2 separate regions of the Homo sapiens genome follow, and region 2 is linked to region 1. The links are contacts of gene promoters, found by promoter capture Hi-C in blood cells and fetal thymus (Javierre and others, 2016). All regions are on one chromosome and are shown on one strand. The core of a region is centred on a gene start or on the middle of the fragment in contact, and the rest is flanking DNA. Distances in the headings are between cores, read along the strand shown.

What was found. Contacts are between HindIII fragments. The CHiCAGO score rates a contact against its expected background, and 5 or more counts as called.
Region 2: a contact is called between a fragment that was not itself captured here and the fragment with the promoter of MAP3K5 in region 1, in 1 of 17 cell types (neutrophils). The highest score is 6.2, in neutrophils.

The regions. Positions count from the first base shown.
Region 1 is chr6:136,788,883-136,796,410 of GRCh38, forward strand. It overlaps MAP3K5 (mitogen-activated protein kinase kinase kinase 5), which reads right to left and starts at 3,595. Exons shown (of 30, transcript NM_005923.4): 1 at 2,828-3,595. The coding sequence starts at 3,275. RefSeq lists enhancers at 2,345-2,860, 2,966-3,035, 3,826-4,055, 4,166-4,225, 4,596-4,675 and a silencer at 3,166-3,805. The HindIII fragment of the contact is 11,326 bases long and covers 1-7,528 here.
Region 2 is chr6:137,241,943-137,249,470 of GRCh38, forward strand. No RefSeq gene overlaps it. Among named protein-coding and RNA genes, the nearest start is that of IFNGR1, 26 kb to the left of the region's middle. The HindIII fragment of the contact is 7,093 bases long and covers 117-7,209 here.

The DNA.
Region 1 (7,528 bases), core at 2,345-4,844:
AGCAATCCCATTACTAGGTATATACCCAAAGGAAAATAAATTGTTCTACCAAAAAGACACCAAACCAGATATTGAATGTTCTCACTCATAAGTGGGAGCTAAACATTGGGTACAAGTAAACTTAAAGATGGGAGGCTGGGTGCGGTGGCTCACGCCTGTAATCCCAATACTTTGGGAGGCCAAGGCAGGAGGACTGCTTGAGGCCAGGTTTGAGACCTGTCTGGGCAACATAGCAAGACCCCGTCTCTACAAAAAAAACATAGTAAAATAAAATAAAATTAGCCCAGCGTGGTGGCTCATGCCTGTAGTCCCAGCTACTCGGGAGGCTGAGGCAGGAGGATCACTAGAGCCCAGGAGTTCGAGCTAGCAGCGAACCATGATCATGCCACTGCACTCCAGGCTGGGCAACAGAGTGAGACCTTGTCTCTAAAACAAATAAAATAAAATAGAAACAAAGGGTTTGGATAAAACTGATGCACTACCTTCATTCTGTCACATTTTCATGCTTTCATGCTGACTGAGAGGGCACTCATCCTGGGAGTTCATGCCATCCAGATGGGCAGGGGTTAAACTGAGACCTGTCTAGGTTGAAAGAAGCAGTACGAAGGGACAGAGTGGGCGCAGGAAAAAGAGGCTTCCGAGAGCATGCCCTCCCCACTATTCCATACACACCTAAATGCCTGGTAAGATCTTTGCCAGCTCACTCACATGATTCCAAGATAGGGAGCTTCCCTTGATTCTGAGAGTAACTCAGCCCACCTAAATGGAGGAAGCAAGGGCCAAGCACAACCTCTTTTTTTTTTTTTTTTTTTTTTTTTTTTTAAGACAGAGTCTCATTCTGTCACCCAGTCTGGAGTGTGCAGTGGTACAATCTCAGCTCACTGCAACCTCTGCCTCCCAGGTTCAAGTGATTATCCTGCCTCAGCCTCCTGAGTAGCTAGGACTACAGGTGTGCACCACCATGCCTGGCTAATTTTTGTCATTTTAGTAGAGACAGGGTTTCACCATGTTGGCCAGGAGGCTGGCCTGGAACTCCTGACCTCAGGTGATCCACCCGCCTTGGCCTCCGAAAGTGCTGGGATTACAGGCGTGAGCCACCACGCCTGGCCCAAGCACAACCTTTTAGGGTCAGCCACCTGAAGTGGAATCCTGCATTGGCCACTTACTCCCTATGAATCCTAGGGCCAGTTAGGGATCCCTGGGTTTTCTCACCTAAGAAGGTAAGTACTTCCTTCACAGGCTTGTTTGGAGGATTCAATGAAATACACTCAAACTTCAGCTCCCTTCTAATCATTCTCTCTCCCTTTCCCAGAGACAGTATTTGGAGAATAACAGAAACCAAGCCTTGTTAGGAAAGTTTCTTTCAAATTAGCTTAGAGTTTAACATTTTTTTTCTAGAGCCCTAGGAAAAAAACGCCCAATCAGTGCAATAAAAATAGGCTCAAGTGTTCAGTTGGGTATTTTCCTCTCATATCTTTTAGTTCTTTGAAGTTTCTTCCAAATTATAATCCAAAAATAAGAGTGCTACAATTTTTAGAAAAGTTATGTTGATGTAACTTTTATAGCAAGCTACCCAAAGAATCAAGCTATATTATAGCCATGCTCAGTTATGAAGACCAAAACTATTTTAAAAATACCAGAACGAGAAAGTCCTAGTTTATTTAGTCTGGCTTCCTTAACATGAAGGTCTTGTTGTTCTCAAAATATTCAGCTTTGGCTGAATTCCAAAACTGACATAAGCCCACTTCAGGTGTTTGGAAGACACTAAAGAGAATCAGAATTGAAAACAAGATTGGAAAATAAAGCCTTTTATGTGATCACAAATGCAAGAAGTGTATTGTTTTGAAACTACTAAACCAAGTTTTTACCCACAAATGTAAACATAAATATGTATATATTCTCAACACTGGACGTACAGGGGACTAAAGGTTAATTTCCATAATATGGTATTATTCCTAACATTTGCTAACAGCTAAGTGCTTCAGTTACTAGAACTGCCTTAACATTTTCTGAAATTTGAGATAGGTTGAAAGATACATTTCTTTCATGGATTATGCTAGCAATCACTTTAATGGCGAAACTAATCTTATTATTAGGATAGCATACAGGTGTTTTAGACAATGTTAAATTACAAACTTTCTAGCCCACCATGGTTTATGGGGTAATAAAAAACAGGCCCTGGTTCTTTCACCAAAATCCTTACAAAGATAACACACAAGTTCAGTGTAAGTTGTAATGTTATTGCCTTTGGAAGCACTGTAATTACTTCAAAGTCTGGGTTGGTGAGAGGAAATTCAAGCTACTAAAACTTATCGAAGGTAAGGTGAGTTGGGAAGATCATCACATGGCATGCAAATTAATATAGTTACACTCTGCGTGCATGGTATGTCATCGTTCCCGTACTCTCAAAACTACACAGAGAAAAGGAGAACCTCATCTAAAACGGTCACAGGTATATGCAGAAAGAAAACAGGGACCAAACCTCACAGAAGCGAAACCGAGACACTGAAAGGAGAAAGACTGACTGGGGCAAATATCTCACACTGCTGGAGAACAGTTCAAGTCGATCGCATGGACCCAGGGCTCCAGCGCTGGGCGGTGGGTGGATCCATAGGTCTATCGCACAAGTACACACAGACTCTTGCACAAGCACACACGCTCTCTCCGGAGCGGCGAGCGACAGGAGCAGTCACGCAGCGGCGCTCGCTGCCCCCAAAGTGGGGCAAGAAGTAAATGCTTCCCGCCCAGAAAAATGAAATGCCCCGAAGACCGCCAGATTAAACGCGGGTCCCGACCGCGCGGGATGGGAAAGGGGTCACACACGCACCTGCATTGTAAAAGCGGTCCAGCACGGTGGTTTCTCCAAAGTCGAGTTTCCCAAAATGCAGGGTTTCCAGGGTGGCGCCCACTGTCTCGCACGCCTCCCGCAAGCTCTGCAGGGCCTCGCTCTCGGCCACCACCAGTTGCCCTTGGCTCGCTTCGTTGATCACATATGCCACCGTGGTCCGTCGGCTGCCCCCGCCAACAGAGCTGCCCCGGCCTCGGGTGGCACTGCTCGAGGAGGTGGCCGCCGGACAACCGATGCCAGGGGCAGCGGCGCTCTCCACGTTCCAGAAGCTGCCCGGCGGCGGCGGTGGCAGCTGGTGCTCCTCGCCCTCGCCCACCGCCGCCGCTCCTCCCCTCCTGCAGATGCCGCCCTCGGGGATGGTGCAGAAGCCCGAGGGGGCGAAGGGTGGCACAGAGAAAGTGATGCCCTCGTCCGCCTCCGTGCTCATCTCTCCGGGCCGGGCAGCAACGGCGGCGGCGTCCCCCGCCCAGCCGCACCGCCTGGCCAGCCACAGCTCGGGGCTGCTCCGCGCCCGCCGGGCTAAGCAGCTGCCATCGCGCGCCGCGCCCTCGCCGCCGCGCCGCCGCCTCCTCTCCGGCGCCCTCTCCCCCGAGGGCACGCCGCTGCCCGGCGGCGGCTCGCTCCTCCTCGGCGCCTCCGTGGCCGCGCCGCTCGCCCTCTGCAGAGTTTAGAGTACAAGGGGTGGGGAAGCCGGGTGAGCGGGAAGGGACGGAGCTTCCTTTTCTTGGCCGGCTGACAAGTCGGCTCGCAAACCTGCGCCGCGGTGCAGCTCAAGGGCGCCGCGCTCGGGGTGCAGCCCGCCCTCGCCACCCGCCGCGCCGCGCCGCGCCGCGCCGCGCAGCTCCTTCCGTCCCGGCCGCTCTGGGAGGGGCCAGGAAGGGCGCCCCCTGGGTGCGGAGCTACCTGGCGCGCACCTTACGAGCGGGCTGGCTCCCCAGGCGGCGTCCCGGAACAGCAGCAGCGGCAGCCGAAAGGACCCTCCTCCCTCTTAGGCGGCAGCTCGCCTTCATCGGGTGGATTTCCTCCTCCTTGCCTGGCCTCGTTTCTCTTTCGATCGCCTCCGCCGCGTGGTCCCGGCGCCAGCCTCGTCGTTCCTTGCAGACGCTCTCCCTCTCCACCACCAGCTTCTGGCCACCCACTCGTAGCGGCACCGAGGGTCAGGGCCAGCCCCCAAGGAGGGCGCTGCTAGGAAGCTCGAGCCCGGACTGAACTGACCGCGCTGCGGCCCTGGGACCCCAGCCCTCCTCTGAGTGCTGCGCGTGGCATAGGGTCCCAGTCTTCACCCACCCGGCCCCCACCTACGAAGACCTGGAGCGCAAGCGATTACGGGGTGGCGCAGAAAGTCCCTCGAGGCAATACTCGGTCTTCGGAGTCCGCCCCTGAAGCATTTCCAGTGTTCCCCGCGACTAGGGCGCCCCCCTCCGGGCCTTGGCGGCCTGGTGGACTGGGACCGTGCGCGGCGCTGGCAGGATAGGCTCCGGGAGACCCACGTTGCGCGAGGCAGGAGGTTGTACATAGCGCCCTGGAGCCAGGGCCTGCACTGGAGGTTGCTTCATTAGTGACTGTGGCACTCCAGAAGTGGCTGGCTAAATTGATCAGGTTCTCCCATGTACTTTTCCTTTTAAAATTTCCAGTGGCTCATTCCGTTATCAGTAATGAGTAATTGATTAGTGCCAACTGCCGAAGGACTTAGTATTCTCATTTAGGATCTTAATTCCCCCACAAGCGCCAGATACTTAAGATAGAAGATGGAGTCTCTACCCGACTCCACAAATTATCAACAAGATGAAACAGGGGAATAACGTGACCTATTCTATTTTTTAAACTGCATCACGCGAGGCCGGGAGGGAAATACCCAGATTGTTTAAGAGCAATCAAAAAAAGTACCTGCTTATTTGGGGAGCAAAGAACAGATGTGTAAGTTCCCAGAGAACCCCAGAATGCTGTAATTGTTAGGAAAGCCAGTGCAAGTTACAACTGAGTAAAGAAACAGGTTTTGTACTTCCCATCTCCAGGAACTGAGACTAGTGAGTCCTGTGAAAAAGGCAGAAGAAAATGTAAATTACTTTTTTTTTTTTTTGAGACGGAGTTTCGCTCTTCTTGCCCGGGCTGGAGTGCAATGGCGCGATTTCGACTCCCTGCGACCTCTGCCTCCCGGGTTCAAGCGATTCCCCTGCCTCAGCCTTTCGAATAGCTGGGATTACAGGCATGCGCCACCACACCAGGCTAATTTTGTATTTTTAGTAGAGACGGGAGGGGGAGGGGTGTGGGGTTCACCATGTTGGCCAGGCTGGTCTCTAACTCCTGACCTCAGGTGATATGCCCGCGTCGGCCTCCCAAAGTGCTGGGATTACAGGCGTGAACCACCCAGCCCAGCCATGAATTACATTTCAAACTGGGTAAGAAGGAAGGATAAAATAGCTGAATAGTAAAGAATTAAAGGAAAGTCTGGGCGCAGTGGCTCACGCCTGTAATCCCAACACTTTGGGAGGCCGAGGCGGGCAGATCACTTGAGGTCAGGAGTTCAAGACCAGCCTGGCCAACATGGTGAAACCCCCGTCTCTACTAAAAATACAAAAATTAGCTGGACGTGGTGGCAGCCGCCTGTAATCCCAGCTACTCGAGAGGCTGAGACAGGAGAATCGTTTGAACCCGGGAGGTGGAGGTTGCAGTGAGCCGAGATGGCGACACTGCACTCTAGACTGGGCGACAGAGCGAGACTCCATCTAAAAAAAGAAAAAGAAAAAGAATTAAAGGAAAGAGTTCTTTAATTTTCTCCAAGGTGGGAGGATTGCTTGAGCCCAAGAGTTCAAGATCAGCCTGGACAACATAGTGAGACCCCCATCTTAAAAAAAAATAATAATTAAAGGAAGGAAGGAAATAGTCATGAGGAAAAACACCTAGCCGCTACACAACTGTATCAATGAATCAATGTGACATTAGATTTTTCTAAAGGTGTATAAAATAATAGAAGTAAATTTCTAGTAAGGAAACTTTATATTCTTCATGTAAAATGGAATCTATGTGACCCACACTAGCTTTTGGAATTAATATCAATAGTAAAATAGGTAGTGAATCAGTGATTATACTGAAACAAAATGTTGCTGAGCTAGTAATAGTTATGTGCCTTTTAATATTTTCAACAACTTGTCAAACCTCCAAAACCTTGTAGGAGTAAGATAATCCTCCCCGCTATCCTCACCAAGAACCACAAACTCTGGAAATCGATGAGGTTCATGTGTGGAAAACTAAAACGCCTAAATGCTCAAGTAGCATTTTACTGTAGAAATACAAAATCTGAAATTATATATCAAGCTATTTTCCAAAGCTGTAACTTTTTATACCCTCTCACTTTGTGCTTTCCTTCCAGATCCTTTCAGAGCCATTTTCATACACAATTTTTATTTTTTGTTTTACTTTGCTGGCTTTTTTGATTTATTAACTTTAAATATGTTTTTTATGTTAGGCACCCAAACCCCAATACAATGTTGAAATTCTGCTTCTAGCTGGTCCAGAGATTCTCCCTCTACCTAAAAGGCACGGTTTAGGTAATTTATGTTCCATAGCATAGGGTTATGAGATAATGAGGAACTAGCTGGCAAGATTCTGGAAGAAAGGACAGGAATCCAGAGGGTGAGTCTACAGTCAGGGTTCCCTTTGGCTGTGGGATTTTTGTGGATCTGAATTAGGCAGCTGAAAGGCTGAAGTGAATTTTTTTAATGAAAAATAACGGTATTTTGCAAAACAAAACAAAAAGAATGGTGACACCGTTGTGCATTTTCACAAATCTTTTTAATGTCTGGCTTAATAGATGACAGTGGATTCTCATTTCTGCTTCTACATTCATGCTGTTGCAGCATGTTGTTTTGGTTGAAGGGTATAAAGAAAATCTGGAGAAGTTTCTGAAGTGTAGGAGGTATTTGAAGAAGTACATGAAGAAAATACTCTGGGAGGAGCACAGTCACTCCCACTGTGAAGGCACACATGAATTCCTAAAAATCACTGAGCTGTGCAAAATAGTGCTTTTTTTAAAGTAATTTCAAGTTTTATTTTAGATTCGGGGGTACATGTGCAGGTTACATGGATATATTGCATGATGCTCAAGTTTAGGGTACGATTGTTCTTGTCACTCAGGTAGTAGAAAGAGCACCCAACAGTTGGTTTTTCAACCCTTGCTCCCTCCTTCCCTCCCGTCCGCAGTGTCTGTTGTTACCATCTTTATGTCCATGTGTATCCAATGGGACCCTCTCCTGGGAAGGTCTTAAGACCCACAGTCAGAAAGGTGGGGGGTTGTTAGCAGGTAAAAGGAGAGCAGGAAAAAATTAGAGGCCTGCCTCTGAGGCCTAACACACTCAACATAACAGAAGACTATAACGAGGGTTATGGGAGTTACAAGCCAGAAACCACAGATGAAAACCAATATATATCGTAACACCACACTCTGTTCATAGTTTCTTTGGTTGTGCAGAAGCTGTTTAGATTAGGTCCCGTCTGTCAGTTTTTCGTTTTGCTGCAAATTGCTTTTCAGGACTTAGTCATAAATTCTTTCCCAAGGCCGATGTCTAGAATGGTATTTCCTAGGTTTTCTTCTATGATTCCTAGGGTTTGAGGTCTTACATTTAAATCTTTAACCCATCTTGAGTGAATTTTTGTATATGGTGATGGGTAGGGGTCCAGTTT
Region 2 (7,528 bases), core at 2,413-4,912, 450 kb after region 1:
TTGTTCACAGTCCAGATGAGGAGTCACCACTGGCCTTATTAGAGATAAGATTCAGATAAGAGCTCTGCCTTTTTTTTTTTTTTTTTTTTTGTCATGTGCTTCTAAGGAAATCATAAAGCTTTAAGCATAGGGATTGTGATTGAAAAATATAATTAGAACAAGAATCAAAGAAATACAAAAACTTAAATATAATTACCATTCTCATCCCTATTTCACAGATACTGGTGCTCCATTCATTCTTCATTTCTTCCTTAGAAAAATACTTGTTTAGCTTTACTCTAAATCGCAATACGTCTTGCCCCAAATTCTCCCATGCTATGCACAGATTCAGGGCTTTGAGGATTCTACCCAATTCATGAGGTCAGAATTCCTAATATTTTTCTTGCTACTTTCAGATTCTTGAATATTAAAATTCTTGCCACTTTTTCTAAGGCTTCCTCAAGTCTTAGTTCTAAGGTAATTCCCGGAGGGTCTCATTCCCTTTGAAATTTGAAAATTGGAATTTCTTTATTATTCCTGCCACATGGAAGTAAAAGAGACAATTGTATCTGCCTATGAAAGGCTTTACAGTTTCCCTGTTAAAACTAATATATATATAGTTTAACTAATTAGAAAATCCTCTCTCTTTGTTCAACCATAGCTCCAGCTTTATTATTTCCCTAACGTATACTACAGAGTCCCTTTACAGTCGCCTCTCTCAGAGGGTGGATCTGCAGAAAACACAGTTGTGACAAACTCTAACTTTAAAATATATATTTAAACAATTATGTTTTAAGCAGTAAGATTTGGAAGTAGAGAAATACATGCTATCACTATACAGGCCCATTTTACCATTAATAACATAAAAGCAGACAGTACTATATATTTTACTTATTTATTACTGTCTCTCCCTATAATTTTTTGTGTTTTTATTAATTTATGTACGCTTAGCACCTAGAATAGTACCTGGTATATAAAAGACATTGAAATCTTTGTTCAAAGAGTTAATTAGTGTTTTTGTCTTCCGTTGTAGCTCATGTAACTATTAAGGGTCCTACTGTGTGGTATTGTGTTTAAAAGATGTGAATGAGAGATAAGAGTTTCAAACAAGAAAATCTTATATTTTAGCTATTACTCCCTGAAAGGTGTAATTATGTGATGGTTATGTCTTATCTTTTGTATAAGAATTCTGAGTAGGAAAAATAAGTAATCTGTATTTATTTTATATCTCATACAAATATAACATTTTGTTACAAAAATAAATTGATACAAGGGTTGGAAGTTCTGGATCCCAGTCCCAGCTCCCTCCTTGATTATGTCTGGGTCCATGAGCACATTTATGTTTACCTTTCTGGATATAGTTCTGTTAACAGCATCACCAGGTTGGGCTAGATGCTCCCCACTATCTCCACTCTTCCTGTTCTCATTGCACCCTGGTTACCTATCGATTTCTCCCCACTTACGGCATTGTATTGAACACATCTGCCTATGTGTGTTTCCCTACTTGATTTGAGAAACTTGGACGCTACCTCACTAAAAAATAATGGCTACTATTTTTGAGTACTATCAAGTGCTATATTCTACCTATTGTATGTTACTTAGAACACCATTAAATAAGTATATCTAAGTCAATTTTGAAGAAGTGAAAATTTAAGACTTTGAGAACTTAAACAACGTGCACCAGGTCTGTAAACTTATGAGATTCCAATCTCTACTCTAACCCCAAAGTCTCTGCTCTTAGCCCTCTACACTATATCCTACTTCTTATCTACAGGATGATCATCATGTCCTGAACCCCTACTAAGTGCCAAATATTTATATCTTGATTATAATCCTGAAAATAACCTCGCACAGTAGACATGATTATTCTCAGCTTGCATCCTATAGGCCAGGTAACTGATGCGCAAAGATGACAAGTAATCTCCCCCCCAGCCATACAACAATACCTGTGGGGCAGTCTGGTACTTCTTGTTGCAAATTATCTCAAAGCTAGTTGATATTTATGCTTTCCTTCACCTCCTACCCATTCATGTTCCCTTTACCTTTAGCCAGCGCCTTAGCTACTTGGGATTCTTTATATGATTAAATGCTTTTTTCACTTGATTGTTTTTCTAGTTTTTTTCTCTTTCTCTTTTTTTTTTTTTTTTGAGACAAAGTCTTGCTCTGTTGCCCAGGCTGGAGGGCATTGGCATGATCGCGGCTCACGGCAACCTCTGCCTCCCAGGTTCAAGCGATTCTCTTGTCTCAGCCTCCCCAGTAGCTGGGATTGCAGGTGTGCACCACCACGCCTGCTAATTTTTGTATTTTTAGTAGAGACGAGGTTTTGCCACGTTGGCCAAGCTGGTCTCGAACTCCTGACCTCAAGTGATCCACCTGTCTTGGCCTCCTAAAGTGCTAGGTTTACAGGCATGAGCCACCATGCCCGGCCCTTGATTGTTTTCAAACCTTCACTCCTGAAGTGTCTGAGCCCTTGGTGGGCCTACCTCGGTTGGATTGTTCCATTCTACAAAATGTATCACTCAATACAAAAGTCTTGACATACATTCCCTGCCCCTAAAAGGATTTAGACAGGAAGAATAAAAAGAGAAATGCATGCAAGTTTTGTTAATTTTACATTCACATGGGGATGTTCACAAGAGAGGGAAGCCTCAAGAAGCGGCCCAAGTAAGATGCTTTTATACTTTTTAGATAAACAACAATAAATTTGTGAAGAAATGACAGGGGAAAGGGGATCTGGCTAGGGATAGTACATTCTAGGGGAGTCACTAGGAGGTATTTGGAGTATGTAAAACTAGTGGAAGATAAGGGTTACTTCCAGAAGTTTATTTACCTAGGCCTGTTGCAGCACCAAATCTCAGTCTCCAGTGATAACGAATATTCTTTTACCCAGGTAAGGAGAAGGCAGCCCTCCCAAAAGAATCTTTTTTGGCTTGCTACATGCAGGAAAAGACAGGGCAACTAGACTTTTTCTGAAACTGTAATTTTTCCAGTGTTTTTTAGCTCAAAATATACCAATTTGTTATATTTGGGGATGATGTTTCCTTCACTTCTTCATCGTAGAAGCAGAAATTCCAAACACCTCTTTGAGAGTTACTCATTCTCTGGGTATCTTCCACGTATATATGAAATATACATGTTAATAAATGTCTGTTTGTTTTTCTCTTGTTAATCTGTGTTTTGTAATAGGGGTCTGTTTCAACTATATATTGGGGTTTTATTTTTCCCTACCCATTCATGCACCAATCAATCTAGCATCAATCAAGCTATATAAAACAACAACTGGTAAGTTCAGGAGAAGTGTGCATGGCTCATCAAACACCCTGTTATTTGCCCAGGAAGCTAACACATTGCTGTTGGCTGTTGTGTGTGCCTGAGGGAAGGGATAGAGGCTTACATCCTAGCTTTTGCTTTTCCAAGTATGCTTAAGGAGTGAGCGTGTGTGCACTTTCTCAGCTTGGAGAGTTCTGATGTGAGGTGAGGTTCGTTTATTATGCCCTCAACACTCCTTATCCTGTTGCTCAGGGGACCTTTCTGAATCTCACTTTGCACAGGTCTTCCCCAAAGCTGCCTCCTGGGCTGTCATCTCCTGGTCCCAAGGGGTGGCCTGAGTGGGACTGGGGGAAGAATGATCAGGAAGCAGTTGGTCTGCCTTGCCTGCTGTTACTCTTCTCAGTGACCTGGTTTCAGGGTTGTCCTGATGTGATGCCACAGCCTCTGACAAGTGCCATAGATCCTGGCTGGTGATGATCCAGCAGGGCACACGTGGTGGAGAAATGGCCACCACCAGAAAGCTCTCCGCAGCCCATCCCCGCCTGCTGCACCTGTGGTCTCTTCTGCTCCAACCCTGGGATACAGGCTTTTTTATCTTGACTAGGGTTTCTCAGAGTCTTTATGTCCTGATCCATCATCCACTTTCTTTTCACCATGACACTTCTGGGCTCAGTTTGGGGAGGAATGATGGTATTCAGCATTAGTTCACCATCTGGTGAGGAACTAGAATCTTTTATGCATCTTTATATTCCCTTCCTTAAGATGCTTAAGGTATGTCCTAGAACAGTAGTTCCCTACATTTTTGGCACCTGGGACCAGTTTTGTGGAAGACAGTTTTTCCACAGATGAGGGCAGGGGATGGCTTCGGGATGAAACTGTTCCACCTCAGATCATCAGGCTTCAGATTTTCATAAGGAGCATGCAACCTAGATCCCTCATATGTGCAGTTCGCAATAGGGTTCGTACACCTAGGAGAATTGAATGCCACCTGCTGATCATAAAAAACATAAAAAACTAAAAAAAAGGAAAACCACTTTGTCTATGATCTTTAGACTTATTTATGTTTAAATTGTTTTTTTCTGTTTAATTTTTAAACAGGAGGTGGAACTCAGGCGGTAATGTTCGCTGCCGCTCATCTCCTGCTATGCAGCCTGGTTTCTAACAAGCCATGGACTGGCCCTGGTCCACGGCCTGGGGACTGGGGGCACCTGTCCTAGAACACTGACCTGGACTGCCTCACCAAGTTTAGTATGAAGGACAAGTCTGTTTCATTGTGAGGAAAAACTATGTTAGAAAAATATAAATATAAATATATAGTATGCTATACTTAAGCTAGTATAATTTAGTGCATAATAACTGTGAAGTAAATGACCGCTAAATAAATAAGACTTTGGATGAGCAGCTAGAGCAGGCTGCACACCACTGTGACAGCATTATTTCTCAGTGCTACAGCAGTTAAGTGCTACTTAAAGAGAAGAACAGATTACTAAAAGGTTGATTTGAACAAATCCTTTAATACATTTGCTTGTTGTTTGGGATTTGTTATTTCAAAAATACTTTAACTTCTCAATTTTGACCCAAACACCGTTAATTGTTTGTGAGTGAGCTTTGTAAAACTGAATGCAGAAGTTTTGATTGTGAGGCAAAAACTCTCTCATCCTGTTTTAAGGAAGATCTACATGCCCTTCTTGGTGATATTCTAGGAAGCAAAAGGAGAAGTGCTCTCTGGGAGATGAATTTCACTACCCTTGTTTTCCCCCTCCTTACAAGATTGGAGCAAATTCCCACTTATTTAGCAAGCAAAACATACTTCATAATTTCCAAATAAGAAGTAAAGTTTGCCATGTACACATCTGGAACCTGTGCATCTAGTCTCAGTTTACAACAAATAATACTTGTATTCTATGAATTCACCCAAAAGCTCAGTTTCGAGTTGACTCAATTCATGAGGAAAGTGCAATTAAGGTAGCTGATATTGATGACAGTTTAAGTAAAATATTAACCATTCACCCCTAGTACGATTTCAGGTTCTAGCTTGTTTCAAATTAAATCACAATATCAAATTAGATCACCAGAATTATTTAGTGTAACTCTTTGTAAAGTTGCCTTTACTAATGTAACTTAATCTGCCTTATTTGAATGTCTTTGACATTCTTGAATGTTGATATGAGAAATGGTCCTATGGAATTAAGGTTTCTGCATCTTTTTAGAAGACTCTGTTGCAAAAATTAATAATTCTGCAAGAGCTACCATTCACAGAGTACATCGGATGACCCAGGCACATGCTTTACTGAATTTAATTCTCACTATAGTCTTTTAGGTGTATATTATAATCCTTACTTTACATATGAAGAAACCGAAGCTATGTTAAACAACTTGCTCACACCTAATAAGTGCTTGACACAAGATTGAAACCCAGGTCTGTTAGATCTCTAAGTTTGTGGCCTTAACCAATATTTTATATTGTAATTATGCTATATGTGTAGAATTACTCATATAAAATGGTAAGAAATTGGGAGGAACTACATTGTAGAGCCAGAAGTCTGACTGGGATGGCAAGCTACAATCAGGATGATCTTTGGCACATATGGGCTTGCCTTGAAATTTCTAGATTCCATTTTGTCAGAAGCTGGATAAAGACTGGACTTTGGTCACCCAACCCTGCTGAAGACTCAGATTATTCCTGACTTGGACATTAAAGGGAAACTTAGTTCCATGGGCAAGGGTGTCTAGGACACTCAGGTAACCACATGAACAGGAGCTTACCTTTGACTTCAGGGCCTTCAATGAGTCATAGGTTAGGAAATCCTTATCTAAGCCATGCTAGTTCCCAGTTTTTCTTGGCTTCTGGGAAGCCCTGTTTCAAATGAAATACTCAATTCCAATATTTTCCTGAATGTTATTATGTTCTTCTTTCCCTCTAAGTCAGTAGACTTCAAACTGTGTTCCACATAGTTCTTTGAGTTCCACAGGCCCTCTTTTAGGGTGCCCCATTGCTTGAGGAGAAGATGGAAGGGATGGAGCTGTGGGCAGGCATCCTGCCCCTTAGTCCAAGCAGCTTCAAGGCCACAGGCATGAAAGGACATTAGCTCAGCTCTACCACTGCCTAGTGATTTGATTTCTTTATGCCCCAGTGTCCTCATCTATAAAAAGGTACTAATAGTCCTCTCTTGTAGGTTTCAGTCATGACAAAAGGACTAAATGCATGTATGACACTCAGAACCCTGCCTGACAAAAAGCAAGCACCCAGGAGTTGTTAGTCATTATTATTGCTTGACTATGCTTTTAAATAAAATGTTTTTTATAATGAAGAACACTGAAACTAAAAAAAAAAAGGAAAACCACTTTGTCTATGATCTTTAGACTTATTTATGTTTAAATTGTTTTTTTCTGTTTAATTTTTATTTGTATGTTATTTTCACGTAAATGAGATTTAATTCATTCCCAGTCTGCCATTTTTGATCTACCAAACTACCTCCTCATAAATGGTCATCCCTGACTTCCCAGTGAGAAACTTGGAAATTGCTTTTATTTCTTGGCTGACAGATCTGATAAATGAGTGTTAGAAGGAAAACTTTAGCTAAAGTAAATTTAACGGAATTTAATTGAGCCAAGAACAATTTGTGAATGAAGTAGCCTCCCAAGCTAGAGTAGGCTCAGAGAGACACCAGTGCAGCCACGTGATGTAAGAAGATTTATGAACAGAAAGAGAACAGGGAAGCACAGAAAACGGAAGTGAGGTACAGAAGCAGCTGGATTGGTCACAGCATGGTGCCTGCCTTATTTGAACACGGTTGAAAAGGTTGGCCCTCTCTGACTGGCCAAAACTCAGTGTTTGGCACAAGAGTAGGTTACAGTCTGTTTACAAATCCATTGAGGTTATAGTTCCTTAGGTACAGAGAAGCCTTTAAGTCAAACTTAAAATACATAAGGAGACAGCTGTAGGCCAAACTTGATTTAAGCTTCTTTGCCTCTCACTTTGCTACTGGCTTCACTGCCTCAGGTGCTCTGTGCTTGAGACAACTTAAGGTTGAGACCCTTTAAAATATTTTGCTGTCCTCTTTGCAGATGAGAGTGTATTAGTCTATTCAGGCAGCTATAAGAAAACACAATAAACTGAGTTGCTTATAAACATTAGAAGTTTATTTCTCTCAGTTCTGGAGGAAAGTCCAAGACCAACACACAGGCAGACTGGGTGCCTGGTGAGGGCTCTCCTCCTGGTTCACTCTTCCTGTGGGCCTGTTTTATAATGGAGCTAATCCCATCCATGAGCACTCCA